3 separate regions of the Homo sapiens genome follow, and all the other regions are linked to region 1. Evidence: promoter capture Hi-C in 16 types of primary human blood cells and fetal thymus (Javierre and others, 2016). All regions are on one chromosome and are shown on one strand. The core of a region is centred on a gene start or on the middle of the fragment in contact, and the rest is flanking DNA. Distances in the headings are between cores, read along the strand shown.

Region 1 (4,901 bases), core at 988-3,487:
TTAAATCCTTCCCTCACGAGTAAGGGCTGTTTATACATATCTAAGAAGTCAGGAGAAGGGCGAGGGCAGTGGCAGCAGAGTCAGATGATACAGGCACAATTCCATAGCAGGGAAGAAGGCATAGACAAGAGCAGTCTAAGAGTTCAAGAAAGGAAAAGATCTTATGTTTCAGATGAGAGGTGGGAGTTAGTGAAGGCTTCCTGAGGTTGCTTGTATTCAATCAGGGCAGGATTTTGACAAGAGACTGGAGAAGCAAAGTACTCTATCAGAGAGAGCAACCCCGGCCATACAGCAAGGTAGCAGGGAAACCGTAGTTGTCAAAAAGTCCTATAGTGGCATTATCTTTGTAAATGGTGCAACCACTAGTGGAAGAGAAGATTCCTTGTTCCCTGTGTTAGCACAAAGACTCATTTCAGTGAGTTGCTGTTTAAAACCAAAAACTAATGAGCTTTATGTCTTCCCACATAAAACATAATATGACATGTGTGGTAAAGTTAACTGAGGTCTGCAATGGAGGTACCATTAACCATGTCAACATAAGCCCAAACATAATCTGATGTTTGGCAGATTGTCATAATCATGTGGCAAGAGCCCAGAAGGCTCATTATTCTCATTTCTGTCATTTAATGGTGGATTTGCCATCAGTAAAATGAAATAGTAACTTCAACTCTATTGGGAGAATTTTCCAAAAAATTACCATCTAAACATCCTTTTAAAATTTCACCCATAAAGTTATCTGAGAGCACGGATCTAAATGACAGTATAAACAAAGCACCAGTAGAACAGTTTTTGTGTAGTGCCTTCATTGTCTGTGAATCTATTCCAACTTTATGGCCTTAGCATAAGAAGGGGAGGAATTGGCAGGTTCTGATTATCGGGGGGAAACTAAAAATTAAAAGTCCTGCCAACCCAGAAAATGCTCCACAATGCAGAAAGACAACAATTTTATTAGGCATTCAACTAGACTTTGATGCACATCACGGCTAATCTGCTAATGAGGTTACAAAGAGAGAAGGAAATCCCTCTTTTATACAGCCAAGGAGACACAATCCATTACACATTCTCAAGGAAACTGGTAACGTGTCCTCATGTAAGAGGGCTTAACATAGTGTTCTATACATTCTTTTATATTTCCTCTTTAATTCATCTGGTAATTGGGGTAACCACCTGTGTTAGCTAACGGCTTTCCTCCTAAGTAATGCACAGCTCCATAACGAAACAGGTGTTTACAATTAGGAATAACGCACCTAGGTTAAACTCCCAAAGTGACAAGGAGACTGGGGCCCTATCTTCCTTGATGTTTACATTTTAAAGAAATGGCTTCCAGGTCCTCAAGAAAAGCATTCCTAGGTCTTTAAAAACATTTGCATACATATTAAATAGAGGAAGCATTCACAAATACTAAGTTTCTCAAGAAAAAAGAAGGGTCTTTCCCTTTTGGCAACAGGGAAAATCTGTAATTTTTTAAATTTAGTCTTACATAGTTTTGCGTGTGTTATCAAACAAGTCCCTTTAATCCTTTCTCATTGCACGTATGTGGACCGCACTTTGGCAAGAGGTGCAGTGATAAGTGGCTGCAGCTACGTGGGTGTTTGTGAACCTCCTCTCTAACAAGATCACCGAAAAGACATTTTTTAAAATGCAGACACGTCCTTGTTCGTTTCCAATTCCGTTTCTCACACTAGTGTCACGTCAGGCCATTAACTCACGTTCAGCTTTCAAGCCCTTACGTAAAGAACCATTCCCATGGCGTGAATCACCCACAACGAGCAGGTCAGGGGCAGGTGAAGGCGGGAGTTCACATCCTAAGACTTTCCTGAAGCGGCAGGCTCTTCCACACAGAAACCAACCGCAAGGCCAGACAAAACTGCTGGAATGGCTTTCAAATCTGTCCCTTTCTAACCCCGTTCCCCCTGGACCTGCAGTGGCCGGAAGAGGAGGAGGAGGAGGGTGCGGGGGTGAGGAAGCAGAGCCGCGCGTTCCCCGGGGCTGGGAGGAAGGCGGACCGCGCCTGGGCCCCGCGGGCTGGCAGACACCAGGAAGGGGCCGCAGAGGAGCGTGGTGGCGGAGTCCAGACCCGGGGCCTCGTGCTCTCGCTGGGGCGCCGCGGCTCAGCTTTCTGGCTCTCTCCCCGGGTGCGAGCACGCCTCCACTCCGGAACTGCATTTGGAGGACCGGGTCATCCCAGGCTGAGGAAAGCCATCGTCCCTCACCTCGACTTCGACTAGGACGGGTGTGAAACGGCTTTCCCGGTCTCCCGGGCGACCGCGCCGCCAGTCGGCTGGACGTCAGGGCGCGGCGACGTCACGGCCCACGTCTGTCGTCAACGCTCCCCTGCACCGCCCAGGGTCTCACGCGCCGGGCGGAAGTGGGAAAACTGGTGGTGGGGCTCGGAAGGCTGGGCTAGTCTTACGCGGAATGCTGTGAGAGGGAGGGAAGGGGATCGAGGGATGAGGTGGGCGAGAGTGGGTCGGGTGCTTGGTAGCGACTGCTGAGATGGAGGGAGCTGTCCCAGCCTCGTGGGGGGTTGGAGAGAGGCACTGCCGGGAGTCGGGAGTCGGGAGCCTATAGCCCTACCTATCACCCCTTGCTCTGGGGCCTATGTGGTAGACACAGCAGTGAGCAGTTACTGTTCTTGAGCAGAGGAAAAAGAGATGCCTGTAGAGGTCATGGGTGTAAAGGGAAGTTCTGGTTTCAGTCATTACAGCCAGGACAAATTAATTGGGAAGGCGTTGGTGACATTTCCATTCTAGTCCAAAGTAGTGAAGATTAAGGGCTTAGTTCAAAAAGTATTTTGAGACCTCCTAGTCTACACTTTATTTATCGCAGGCTACCCACCCTTACACGTGACTAACTTCCCTTTGTTCATACATTCATTCATAAAACAAGTATTTATAGACCTACTACGCGACAAGCAGAGCAGCATACCGAGATAGGGTGATACTCTGTGACTGGTCAAGGCAGGAGCAGCCATTGGTGTAATTAGCAGGTGACTCATTCGTAGTCCAGATCTTGCCTTTCTGAGGATTATATAAGGTCGAAGTACAGTTCTTCCAAGAACCAAAGAAAACATCGATGGCTCTGTAGCAGGCAAAGAGACTGGTTTGCTATTGAATAAAATAAGATTAAGTAAATACAAAGAAAATTAATTGAACCTATAGATTTAGAGAAGTGATTAAATGACGCAGAGCAGTATCGGTACACCAAACTGCTTATTGATAACTACTAATTAATGACACCAGGAAGTACTGAACACTAGTGCCTTGTTCCTTGGCACTAAAAAGTCTAGTAGATGTGGCTGGGCGCGGTGGCTCGGGCCTGTAATTCCAGCACTTTGGGAGGCCAAGGCGGGCAGATCACAAGGTCAGGAGATCGAGATCATCCTGGCTAACACGGTGAAACCCCGTCTCTACTAAAAATACAAAAAAGTAGCCGGGCGTGGTGGCGGGCGCCTGTAGTCCCAGCTACTTGGGCTACTCGGGAGGCTGAGGCAGGAGAATGGCGTGAACCTGGGAGGCAGAGCTTACCCTGAGCCGAGATAATGCCACTGCACTCCAGCCTGGGCGACAGACCAAGACTCAGTCTCAAAAAAAAAAAAAAAAAAAAAAGTCTAGTAGATGTATCTTGTACATTTAACCTGACTGATATTTTTGCCCCAATGCCTACCCTTGATTTTCTGTTTCCACTCCCTCAAAGAAGAAAGGATTAAGAGGCCTAGAGGACAGTCAACCAAGTGGTCAACTATAACATGCTTATGAGAAGCCCAAATAACTTTCAGAGCTATTCATCCTCGTCATATTTATCTGAGAGATAGTGAGGGTAGGACTGCTCTCATTTTGTGATAATGGAAGTTTAGATACAGGGCACCAAAACTGGTACCTATCTGGGACAGGAATTTGCACACCTAATGCAAGATCACTCTGTTCTGAGGCTAGTTTTCTTTATTGAGTACTTTGTTTATAGGATAAGGAAAGGCAACACTTTAAGGATGGGAGAAAATCCAGCTCAAAGGCTGCAGTTCACTCCTTGGTTTAATTTCATCTGTGTTTATTTGTCTGCATATTGCCTTTGAGACCAATTTCCTTTCCACTGTAAATTTCCCTTAGACCTGCACTGTCCAGTAAGGTGGCCTCATGTAACTAATTTCACTAAAATGAAGTATGTTTAAAAATTCCATTGCTATATTGCATTAGCCATATTTTAAGTACTCAGTAGTCATGTAGGTAATGTATGATACACCATAGATACTGAACATTTTCATTATCATAGAAAGTTGGGCTGGGCGTGGTGGTTCATGCCTATAATCCCAGAGCTTTGGCAGGCTGAGGCAGGAGGATCTCTTGAAGCCAGGAGTTTGAGACTGGCCTGGGCAATATAGTGAGACTCTGTCACTATAAAAAAAAAAAAAATTAGCATGGTGTGGTGACACACACCTGTAGTCTTTACTCAGAAAGGCCTAGGTGAGAGGATCACTTGAGCCCAGGAATTTGAGGCTGCAGTCTATGATCTGGCCACTGCACTCCAGTCTAGGTGACAGAGCCCGACCCTGTCTCTTAAAAAAAGAAAACAAAGAAAAAGAAAGTTGGAAAGCAGTAGACCCCAGTAAGAATTTCAAAGGATAAGAGTTAAGTTGTGATGAATGACATTTTTTAAAGCGTAGCAGCAAAAAGTGTTATTCCTGAAAGAAGATAGTGCAAAGGAAGTGTTGTGACAAGATGTTACAAAATAGGTTTAAGAAAAAAAAAAAAGCCACGAATCCTGTGCCCTATGTTGGTGTTTTGTCTTGGTCTCTCCCTTTTCAGGTTTCTCACTTGCCCTCCCTCTGTCTTCCCACCCCATTACTGTCCATACTAGAATTGAAGTACAATTTAAAATAATCCCATCATTGGGCATATTAAATA
Region 2 (4,901 bases), core at 1,456-3,955, 160 kb before region 1:
TAACAAATGACCACAAGCTTAGTGTTTTAAAGCAATACAAATTTATTATTTCACAGTTCTGGAGGTCAGAAGTCCTAAAATCAAGGTGTCACCAGGTCGTGTTCCTTCTGAAGGCTCCAGGGGAGAATTCATTTCCTTACCTGTTCTAGCTTCTAGAGCCCACCTGTATTTCTTGTCCTGTGGCCCCTTCCTCCATCATCGAATCACATCACTGCAATCTCTGTTTTCATACTCACATCTGCTTTTGTGACTTTGACCCTCTTGCTTCCTCTTATAAGGATCCTCGTGATTATATTAGGCCTGCCCACATAATCCAGGATAATTTCCCCATTTCAAAATTCTTTTTTTTTTTTTTTTTTTGACACAGAGTCTCGCTTTGCTGCCCAGGCTGGAGTGCAGTGGTGCGATCTTGCCTCACTACTGCCTCTGCCTCCCTGCCTCCAGGTTTCAAGAGATTCTTGTGCCTCAGCCTCCTGAGTAGCTGGAATTACAGGTGTGTGCCATTACACCCAGCTAATTTTTGTATTTTTTAATAGAGACAGGGTTTCACCATGGTGGCCAAGTCATACTCCTGGCCTAAAGGGATCCACCTGCCTCGCCTCAGTCTCCCAAAATGCTGGGATTACAGGTATGAGCCACTACGCCTGGCCTCAAAATTCTTAATCGCATTTGTAAAGTCCCTTTTGCCATGTAAGGGAACATACAGATTCCAGGGATTAGGACATGAAACTCTTTGGGGAGCCGTTATTCTGTCACTACAACTGGCCTTCATGTTTTTTGAACTTGTAAAACTGATTTCCAAGAAACGTAGGGTCTTGTCTTGATCTCCTTCCTCCCAGATGTAATCATGGCTAGCTCCTTTCTGTTATTCATATCTTAACTTAAAGATCATCTACTCAGGGATGCCATTCTGACCACTCTGTCAAAAGTATACCACCCCTCTCCACTACTCACATTCTATTATGCCTATTTTATATTTTTGCGGCACTTAGCATTGTCTGAAAAGTAACTCTATGGAAATGTGCCAATCTTGTTACTCCAATATCTAGTGCCTGCACACAATAGTCCTGGCTCTCAGTAAACATTTTGTATTGAATAAATAAATGAAATAAACATAGCCTGTTCAAGTTAGGACCATGTGAAAAATGGATCTGTACACTGACACTGGAATGCCACCAGGCCACCTTCTGCTTGCCAGGAAGAAATTTTCATGAATGAACAGGAAGGTGAGAGGAAAATCAGGAGAACGCTGATATTTATATCTCAATAATAGAGACTGTCCCAAGAACAGATTGGTCAACTGTCAGATGCTGTTGAAAGGCCAAGTAAGAGCTTTAAAAATTAGTACTTTGTGATGGTCAAAAGTTTACTATTGTTCAAATTATCAGTTAAATGAGCAGTAGGTGACTGTTAATGAAATTAAAATGTAAGTCCTGTGTTAGCTTGCTTAGAAAAAAAAAGGAATTAAAGTGTAAGTACATTACAGAGGTTCTTAAATTAGAAAACATTTTTTTAAAATTTTTTTTGAGACCGAGTCTCGCTCTGTCACCCAGGCTGGAGTGCAGTGTCGCAATCTTGGCTCACTGCAACCTCTGCCTCCCGGGTTCAAGCAATTCTCCTGTCTCAGCCTCCCGAGTAACTGGGACCACAGGCACCTGCCACCATGCCTGGCTAATTTTTGTATTTTTAGTAAAGGCGAGGTTTCACCATATTGGTCAGGCTGGTCTCGAACTCCTGACCTCAGGTGATCCACCCGCCTCAGCCTCCCAAAGTGTTGAGATTACAGGCATGAGGCACTGCGCCCGGCCAGAAAACATATTTTACATAATCACTTAGACATATTCTTAGTGACAGATTATAAATCATTTTAAGTAAATTTTGTTCTTATCACATACATGAAAATAAATATATCCAAAGTGTAAAGCATTCAAGCAATATATAATAGAGTGAGATAAGAATTTCCACACAGCCCACACTTTCATTTCTAGAGGTAACTTGTAATCCTATCATTTATTCAATGTATTTAAATCCATATGCATGTGTATGTGCATTGGTATTCATTTTTAGCATGAATGGGATCATTTTTCTGATATTTCTAATCTCCCGAATTCCTAATAGCCTGCCATAACCGTCTGTTCTTTTATGGTTACAATCCTGGACATACTTTGGGGGATATCAGTTATACTTATTCTAATATCTGTTTGCTATTTAACAATTTTCTAGGGTGTTAAGGATTTTCTGTGTGAATTCATAGCCACTTTTTGGGGGGACTTGGGGGGAGGTGTTTCTTCACATACCTAGTAATCTTTGGTTGTGTTGAATCCTCAGACTTAAGATCCTCTGTTTGCTTGTCTGCTTTGCTGTTTATTTTTGCCCTGATTGTTTTTAGAGGTGTAATGAAGGGGCAGGGTATGCTACCTGGTGGGGGCACTGGAGGTTTGTCTTGGGCTGTGGGGACCCTGGTCTCTCCTGGGATTCAGTAGCTGCCAGGCTGTTTGACTCTAGTCCACATACTCATTGTGTTAGTCTGAGTATAGATGCTTCTGCAAATGCTGCTTCACACAGGGCTGATTGTAGGGTATTGATGAGGGGCCAGCTGGCTTAAATGGTCCATATGTAATTCCTCAGAGTGGGTTTCACTGGACCACCTGAATCAGTATCATGTGGGGAGTGCATTAAAAATGTGATTGCTTGGAGCCACCCCAGACATAAATATAGAACCAGATTATCTGTGGAAAAGGAGCCCAGAAATCTGGTCCTGAGGCTGAGTCTGTGGGAGAGGCCATACTGTAATATAGAATTTTAGCAAGCTACCCATGATTCTTATGTAGATTGGAGTGTGACAACCACTATTTCAATGATTCACCAGGTCTCACTCCCTTCTCTGTGTTTTAATTAATTCCGAGGAAGGTCCTGTCTATCCCATGCCCACCAGCATCACCACTCAATTGCTCTTCACCTGGGTTATTCCTCAGTAGAGTTTACCCTTTCTACTATCCTTTCTATGTATTACCTTTCAGGAATTCCTAGAAATTTCTCACCATAAATGACAGTCTTTCTTTTAAGGCTTATTTATCTATCTTTATCCTGGAAGTTACTGTATAATTGCAGAAATGCTGATGATGTTTTATCAGTTTACAAAACTGATGTTTCCTATACATACAAGACCTTCTTAAAAATTAAAAAATGGGCATAATGCCCATTTTTAGAAATGTGAATTAGGAAGGATAGAGCCACTTAAGTGGCTTCAGGTGCTGGAGACCTTTCTCTATGCTACCTGTCTCTAGCTCTTCCATCTATCTATCTATCTATCTATCTATCTATCTATCTATCTATCTATCTATCTACACACACACACACACATATTCATATATATATGAAAGTAATAAAAGTATATTTTATATCCATATATGTTTAAAAGCAATAGAACTAGATTTTATAGTCTTCATATTTTTCATTATTTCAGGGAGGTGTTCCCTTAATTAATCTAGATATTATAGTACTTAAAAATAAAATTTGTAGAAAATTTCATCAAGCTCTCAGAGCATCATTAAAGCTCTACCTCTTTAGCAAACGCTACTGGTTACCTTCTGAACATTCACTACAGCTTATTTCCTGCCCATCAGAGTTCCAATTATTATTTGTTCTAAGGATAAATCTTGCTTGGTCTAAGGTAATTGTAGCAGCCCTGTTCCCCTTGCCAGTGGTTCACTTAGGAGAGGATATGTAAAGGGTTCTAGACAAGGAAATATAAGGAGAATGCTGTTTGGTGGCATCTGATAATTCTTTTTTCTCACTTCTAAAAAGACACTAGAAAACCATCCCTTCCTGCCTGCAGGCACCATATCCAAATGAGGCCTCTAGAGTGGAGGAACTGCAGCCATCTTGCGATTATAGGGACCTGACTTAGCTTTGGGTTGAAGCCAGTGCTGAGGGCAGCAGGATGGAGACAGAAAGAACATCAAGATCCTTGGGGATATTGCTGAGACTCTTATCAACTAAAACTGACATTATCCTACCTCTGTTACTTGCAGCCCAAAGCATTCTGATAAAATCTCTATTTTTAAATACATAACAACGTTCTTTTAAACCTTGGAAAATATTTTCTTAAAAATCTTGGAAAAAGAACCCCAGTTTCACCCATTTATAAATTGCTTCTTCCTTTTATTGTCAAAATTCACAAAACTTATATCCAAATATTTAAAAATCTTTAAACAACACAAAGAATTAACTTACAGGTGACAAACATTCCTATTCCCAGCCCCCACAAAGAATAAGGATTAAAAATGGAAGAAACCTGATTTCATAGCATATTCCAATTTCTGGAAGTCCAAAGAGGTTTGAGTGTGCACAGGAAATCTTGAGTTTACTAACAAATTGTATTAATATATCAAATTTTTTGAATGAACTGTTTTGACTTCAAACTTATCATTACAAAAATGGCGAAGCCACACATTTGACTCTAGCCTCACCTCCTGACCTCTGAGCAACCTGAGGCTTTAAGCAGTCCCAGGCTTTGATCCTAAATGCCCATACTCCTCAACTTAATCCTAGCAGTAAAGGAGAGTAGATAGAGTATAGATGGAAGAGCTAGAGACAGGTAGCATAGAGAAAGGTCTCCAGCACTTGGAGCCATTTAAGTGGCTCTATCTTTCCTAATTCGCATTTCTAAAAATGGGCATCATCTCCATTTTTTAATTGTTAAGAAGGTCTTGTACGTGTAGGAAACATTAGTTTTATAAACTGATAAAACATCATCAGCATTTCTGCAATTATACAGTAACTTCCTACAGATAATTAGTTTGATGGACTTTAGTGGTGTATTTCTCCCTGCATCTCCAGTCTACCCTGACTCTCACCATTTCTCAGCACAAGTTATGTTAAAATTATAATAAACAAAA
Region 3 (4,901 bases), core at 1,443-3,942, 140 kb before region 1:
ATATATTCAAACAATAAAGTCTAGAAGGATTCACATCAAATGTTTATAATTCTATCTGAAAGTTGGAATTTCCTAATCAATAGTGAACATGTCTTATTTTGGTAAGGGAAAACAAAAAACCATCATATTAAAGTAGCCTAATACTAAACTATATAACATACTCATACCCATCTTATAACTCATCTTGCAAGCCATGGATGGTTCTTGTAAGCCATCATCAGGTATCCACTTTCCTCTAGACCTCTTCTGCCTTCCCCACATAAAAGCTTATGTTTACCATCAGCCAGGCTGGAAGTGGCCTGATACAGTAGCTCACTCTGAAGCATACATTAATGATAACAATGTATATGCTTTGGTGCTCCTAGGCAGTGGAAATCTGGTAGTAAAGTTCTGGAATCAGGTTCCAGTTCTGCTGATTAGTAGCTGTGTAGTCCTGGGCAAATGACTGAATTCCTCTAGGCCTTAGTAATTTCATTTGTAAACTGGAGATAATAAAAGTGCTTAACCCAGGAGGGTGATAGTAAGGGGGTACCTATGGCTGACATATGGCAAGTGGTATGTGAATGTCAGCTGCTATTTAGATTATAGTAGGAAATCTACCTGAACTCACAGGAATGATTTTTTTAATGATGTTAAGATAGTACCAGTGATTAGCTAGTAGTAGAGAGATGTTAGAGATGCTGCCAAGAGGTAAGAGACATTGGGCAAGAGGGTGGGAGTATGGGGAGAGATCATTAATTCCTCATTTAGACACTGTCACTATTATTCATATGCTGTCAGCCCATAAATGTGGATGAGCTGTAAATGTCTATGAGCAGCCGGTATGTTCTGTGCCTGGGTGAGTCCATGTGTAAAAGTGTCTGTGTGTGTAGGGAGGAGTGTGCCCACGTAGGTGTTAGGGAAGGAACAGATTAAAGCTCCTTTCTATTCACTGCTTAGCTGAGGTTTCCCTGAGGATGAATCATGCTTAGTATAGAAGCCGTGTATGACAGAGAAGACAGAACATCTATCATAGTTGTTCCTGATCAAGCCTAGTGTTAATCTTATGACAGGTGCCTAATAAATATTGCTGAATGACTAAATAAATTGGAAACTGGTATCTGAATGAGCAGAAGGAGACAACATTGGGATGGGATGATGTAGACACCTCAGGCTACAAGTATATATAATGGGAGAAAGAATGCAAGGGGCAAACTATCTGAGAGGGGTGAATTTAGGAAATCAGGCAAAGATCAGAAGCCATAGAATTTAAAAAATGAAGTCTAAAATTTATTCCCAAGGTCCTATGGTACAGTTAAAGAAAAGGCAAAGAGAGTGGTAGAGCTAAAGTCTAGCCTTAGAATAAGAAAATGATGTTGGAGGTAAAGAACAAGGAGAGAAGGTTGCAATGGCACAAATGAAAAATGACTAGAGAATGAACCAGAATTACAGCTATCTCAAAGGAGAGAAAGGAGTCTCAGATGAATGACAACCATTATAAGGAGTAGATGCCTATGATCATTATAGAAAATTCCTCTATGATTCAAACATTAATAAAATGGAGATGATACATAAAACAGTGGTAATCTTTAGATGAAAGTTCAATGTTGGGAGCAAATGAAAAGGCAAGAAAACAAAGATAATCTTAGACGACTCCAGTGATCAAAGATCACATGGCTTCCACAGGAGATCCCTTTATAAGACTCACATTTCAAATGGTGATCAGGTTCTAAAAAAGATTTCTTAGAATTTTAGTTAATACTGCCTGGCTTGCAATTTGTCTAGAGATCAGGCTAAACTTTTTGTCCATCTACTTTTGGACACAGAAGCAGCCCACAGTGGTTCATTATCAAGCTGGTCTCTTTTAAGGGCTGTTGGATTTAATACAACTAAAAATAATTACAAACTTCCTTGGTTTTCTGTTTGTAAAATCAGCACTTTCCCCTTTTATTTGAAGCCAAGGTCATATTATTCCAACTAAAGTCCAACAGTTCAAAAGGAATCATAAAGGCTGATCAAGTCACTACAGTGAGTGCTCTCTGAAAATCAGACCTTGCAGGTAAGGTCCTTGTGGATCTGTGTTCATAGATCTCTATCTGCCATACAGACGGATGACTCCTGAATTAAACATAGGCACTCTCTTCTTCAGTAACCTTTTCTAAGAGCAGGCAGACTACTGTTACAGCTAATCAGGGCTGACTAGAAAATAAACAAGTCGAGGTGAATACACCTTTGGGCAAAGAGAAATTAAAATGTATAGCTTTCTTCTGAAATTAAAGTAGTATTTAAAGAAATTTGAATGCTTGTATACTAAATATAATCATTTGGTTTGCTATCACATCAGGAAAGTTACTTTAAAATACATTTGAATATATAGTTCTTTAGATGATCTTACATTTTATCTTGCCTATTCTAATGTATTAAGGTAGGTAAGAAAAGCTACCATATTCCCAATTTACAGATGAAGTAACTGAGACATAGAAATTAATAACTTATTCAAAGGGCCTATACAAGGCCTAAACAGTACCAGAAAGCAGAACTGTTTGGATCCCAGCTCAGTATTTTTTCCAACTGAACCACATCACTCATTTTGTGACTTGAATCACAAGCACTAAACAAGCTACTAATTAAGGAATGCAGTACTTACATATGCTACAACATGGATGAAACTCACAAACATTATCCTAAGTGAAAGACGCCACACACAAAAGACCGCATATTGTATGGTTCTATTTGTATAAAATGTCCAGGATAGGTAAGTCTATAGAGATAGAAAGTAGGTTAAGGATTGTTGGAAAGGGGCAGGAGTGTAAGGGGAGTGGCTGTTGATGGCCACAAAGTTTCTTTTTGGTGTGAAAGAAATCTCCCAAAATTCGACTTTGCTGATGGTCACACAACTCTGCAAATATCCTAAAAACCACTGAATTGTACACTTAAAGTGGGTGAATTTTGTAATTTGTGAATTTTATCTCTGTAAAGCTGTTTTAAAAGATTCAATTAGGATGTTAAAATGTTATATGCAAAATCATTTTTTAAAGTATTTGTGTTATTTACTATACTGAACAGCTTACTAAAATTAAAAAGTCAAAAGTTTTTTCACTTGGAATAAATTTGAAAGTTGGTAAAATAAATTAAGGAAGGATATTAAAAATAAGCTGAATGCTGAAGTGACTTATTTGAACTCTGTCTTCCAATATTTGTGACTGCTGACAAAAAGTAAAGGACATTTTATTCTAGCAGGTGGAAGGAAAATCATTTAAGTAGACTGACTGTGGGTCACAATGACCTCTGAGAGGATTATATCAATTGAGATAAATTGTGCATTTTGGAAGTTATTAGTGTGAGCTAAACATAAAATTACAGAACTTAGGTAAATAAATCTTCAAAAGGAAACAAAAAATTTGGTCTTCAAATTTTTACTTCATATGTTGGCTTTTCTATGAAAAAATCAAATTTTGGCATTAAGAGTTAGGTTGCTATTGATAGCCCATTATTTACTCCTAAACCACTATTAAACTATATGCACCAGAATTAACACATGTATTTAAATTTTTGAGCATCTCTATTTCAAGACAGAAATAAAGGGAAAAAATGTGGGGAAAACAAAGTTAAAAGTTTTTCATGTAGAAAAGTAATGATCATAAAAACCGTATGCTTGGGCCAGGCATGGTGGCTCACGCCTGTAATCCCAGTACTTTGAGAGGCCTAGGAGGGCAGATCACCTGAAGTCAGGAGTTTGAGACCAGCCTGGCCAACATGGTGAAACCCCGTCTCTACTAAAAATACAAAAATTAGCCAGGCTTGGTGGCGCATGTCTGTAATCCCAGCTACTCCAGAGGCTGAGGCACGAGAATCACTTGAATCCAGGAGGTGGAGGTTGCAGTGAGCCGAGATCGCGCCACTGCACTCCAGTCTGGGCAACAGAGTGAGACTCCATCTCAAAACAAAACCAACCAACCAACCAAACAAAAATCATATACTTGAATCAAAGCTGAAACTTTTCAGTGGTGATTTACAAGGAAACAAGTAACAAAATGTGAAAAATATGAGCATTTATTTAACTTTGGAAACAAGAAAATGCCATCAGAGTTAGAACCAGAATCATAGCATATCAGAGCCCAAAGGGCCTTCCAAGGTCTTAGTTCTATCCATTCATTGCCTAGGTGTGGACATATATTCATTAAGGATAAATGGCATGTCAGAGTCACCTGCCTAATGTGTGAAAGGGTCATCATGTTCTGATTCTTGGCTTAGCATGCTTTCAATTAATACCACATTGGTAGGGAACATGGGTGGGGGGGATGAAAGGTACAGCAGAGAGATATTTACATAGTTTGAAATGAAGAAAGATAAAGTTTATTCTAAAAGTGAATTCAAAAGTAAGAAATAAGGGACTATAAAATATTAGAACAGTTTTTAAAATATAAGGAAGCACAATAGTGACATAATATTCAGCAAACATTAACAAATTCAGGTATAAAATATATATTTCATGTTAGTTAAAAAAAGGATAAAATGTTAACTCATTGATTAGGAGAGATAACCTAAGAAAGAATAAGGAACAACTAAAGGCATGGATAATAAAAGGCCACAGTATAGAAATTCAAGTGAAATGAATGAAGGGATTGCAATATTCAGGGGAAATGGATAGTATAGAGTTTGAATTCTCTGAAGAAAAAAAGGCAGAGTGGTGGGATAGAAGGTGGGGCAGAGAATTAGGCCAGGAACACAGAAAGGAAGATGTTCAATTAGTACCACAAAAGAAGCCTTATTGTGATACTTAGCACTTAAAGTTAGTTCTACAACTGCAGAGAAGTTGGTAAAATGGCTTATAGGAAAGAGTATATAAACAATGCAAATGCTTAGAATTGAACTTATGATTATTAATTAAAATAAGCCATTTAGAAAGTTCATAACAAAAA

Evidence for each region. Contacts are between HindIII fragments. The CHiCAGO score rates a contact against its expected background, and 5 or more counts as called.
Region 2: a fragment that was not itself captured here is called in contact with the fragment with the promoter of LEKR1 in region 1 in 2 of 17 cell types (naive B cells and total B cells); the score reaches 10.8 in naive B cells.
Region 3: a contact is called between a fragment that was not itself captured here and the fragment with the promoter of LEKR1 in region 1, in 2 of 17 cell types (non-activated CD4 T cells and total B cells). The highest score is 5.3, in non-activated CD4 T cells.

The regions. Positions count from the first base shown.
Region 1 is chr3:156,823,689-156,828,589 of GRCh38, reverse strand. LEKR1 (leucine, glutamate and lysine rich 1) reads right to left here and starts at 2,237. Exons shown (of 13, transcript NM_001004316.3): 1 at 2,214-2,237. RefSeq lists a silencer at 1,096-1,390 and an enhancer at 1,705-1,764. The HindIII fragment of the contact is 11,302 bases long and covers 1-4,901 here.
Region 2 is chr3:156,981,302-156,986,202 of GRCh38, reverse strand. All of the region lies in intron 7 of LEKR1 (leucine, glutamate and lysine rich 1), which reads right to left. Among named protein-coding and RNA genes, the nearest start is that of LINC02029, 98 kb to the left of the region's middle. The HindIII fragment of the contact is 5,372 bases long and covers 20-4,901 here.
Region 3 is chr3:156,959,322-156,964,222 of GRCh38, reverse strand. The region is part of intron 6 of LEKR1 (leucine, glutamate and lysine rich 1); the gene reads right to left. Among named protein-coding and RNA genes, the nearest start is that of LINC02029, 120 kb to the left of the region's middle. The HindIII fragment of the contact is 4,848 bases long and covers 269-4,901 here.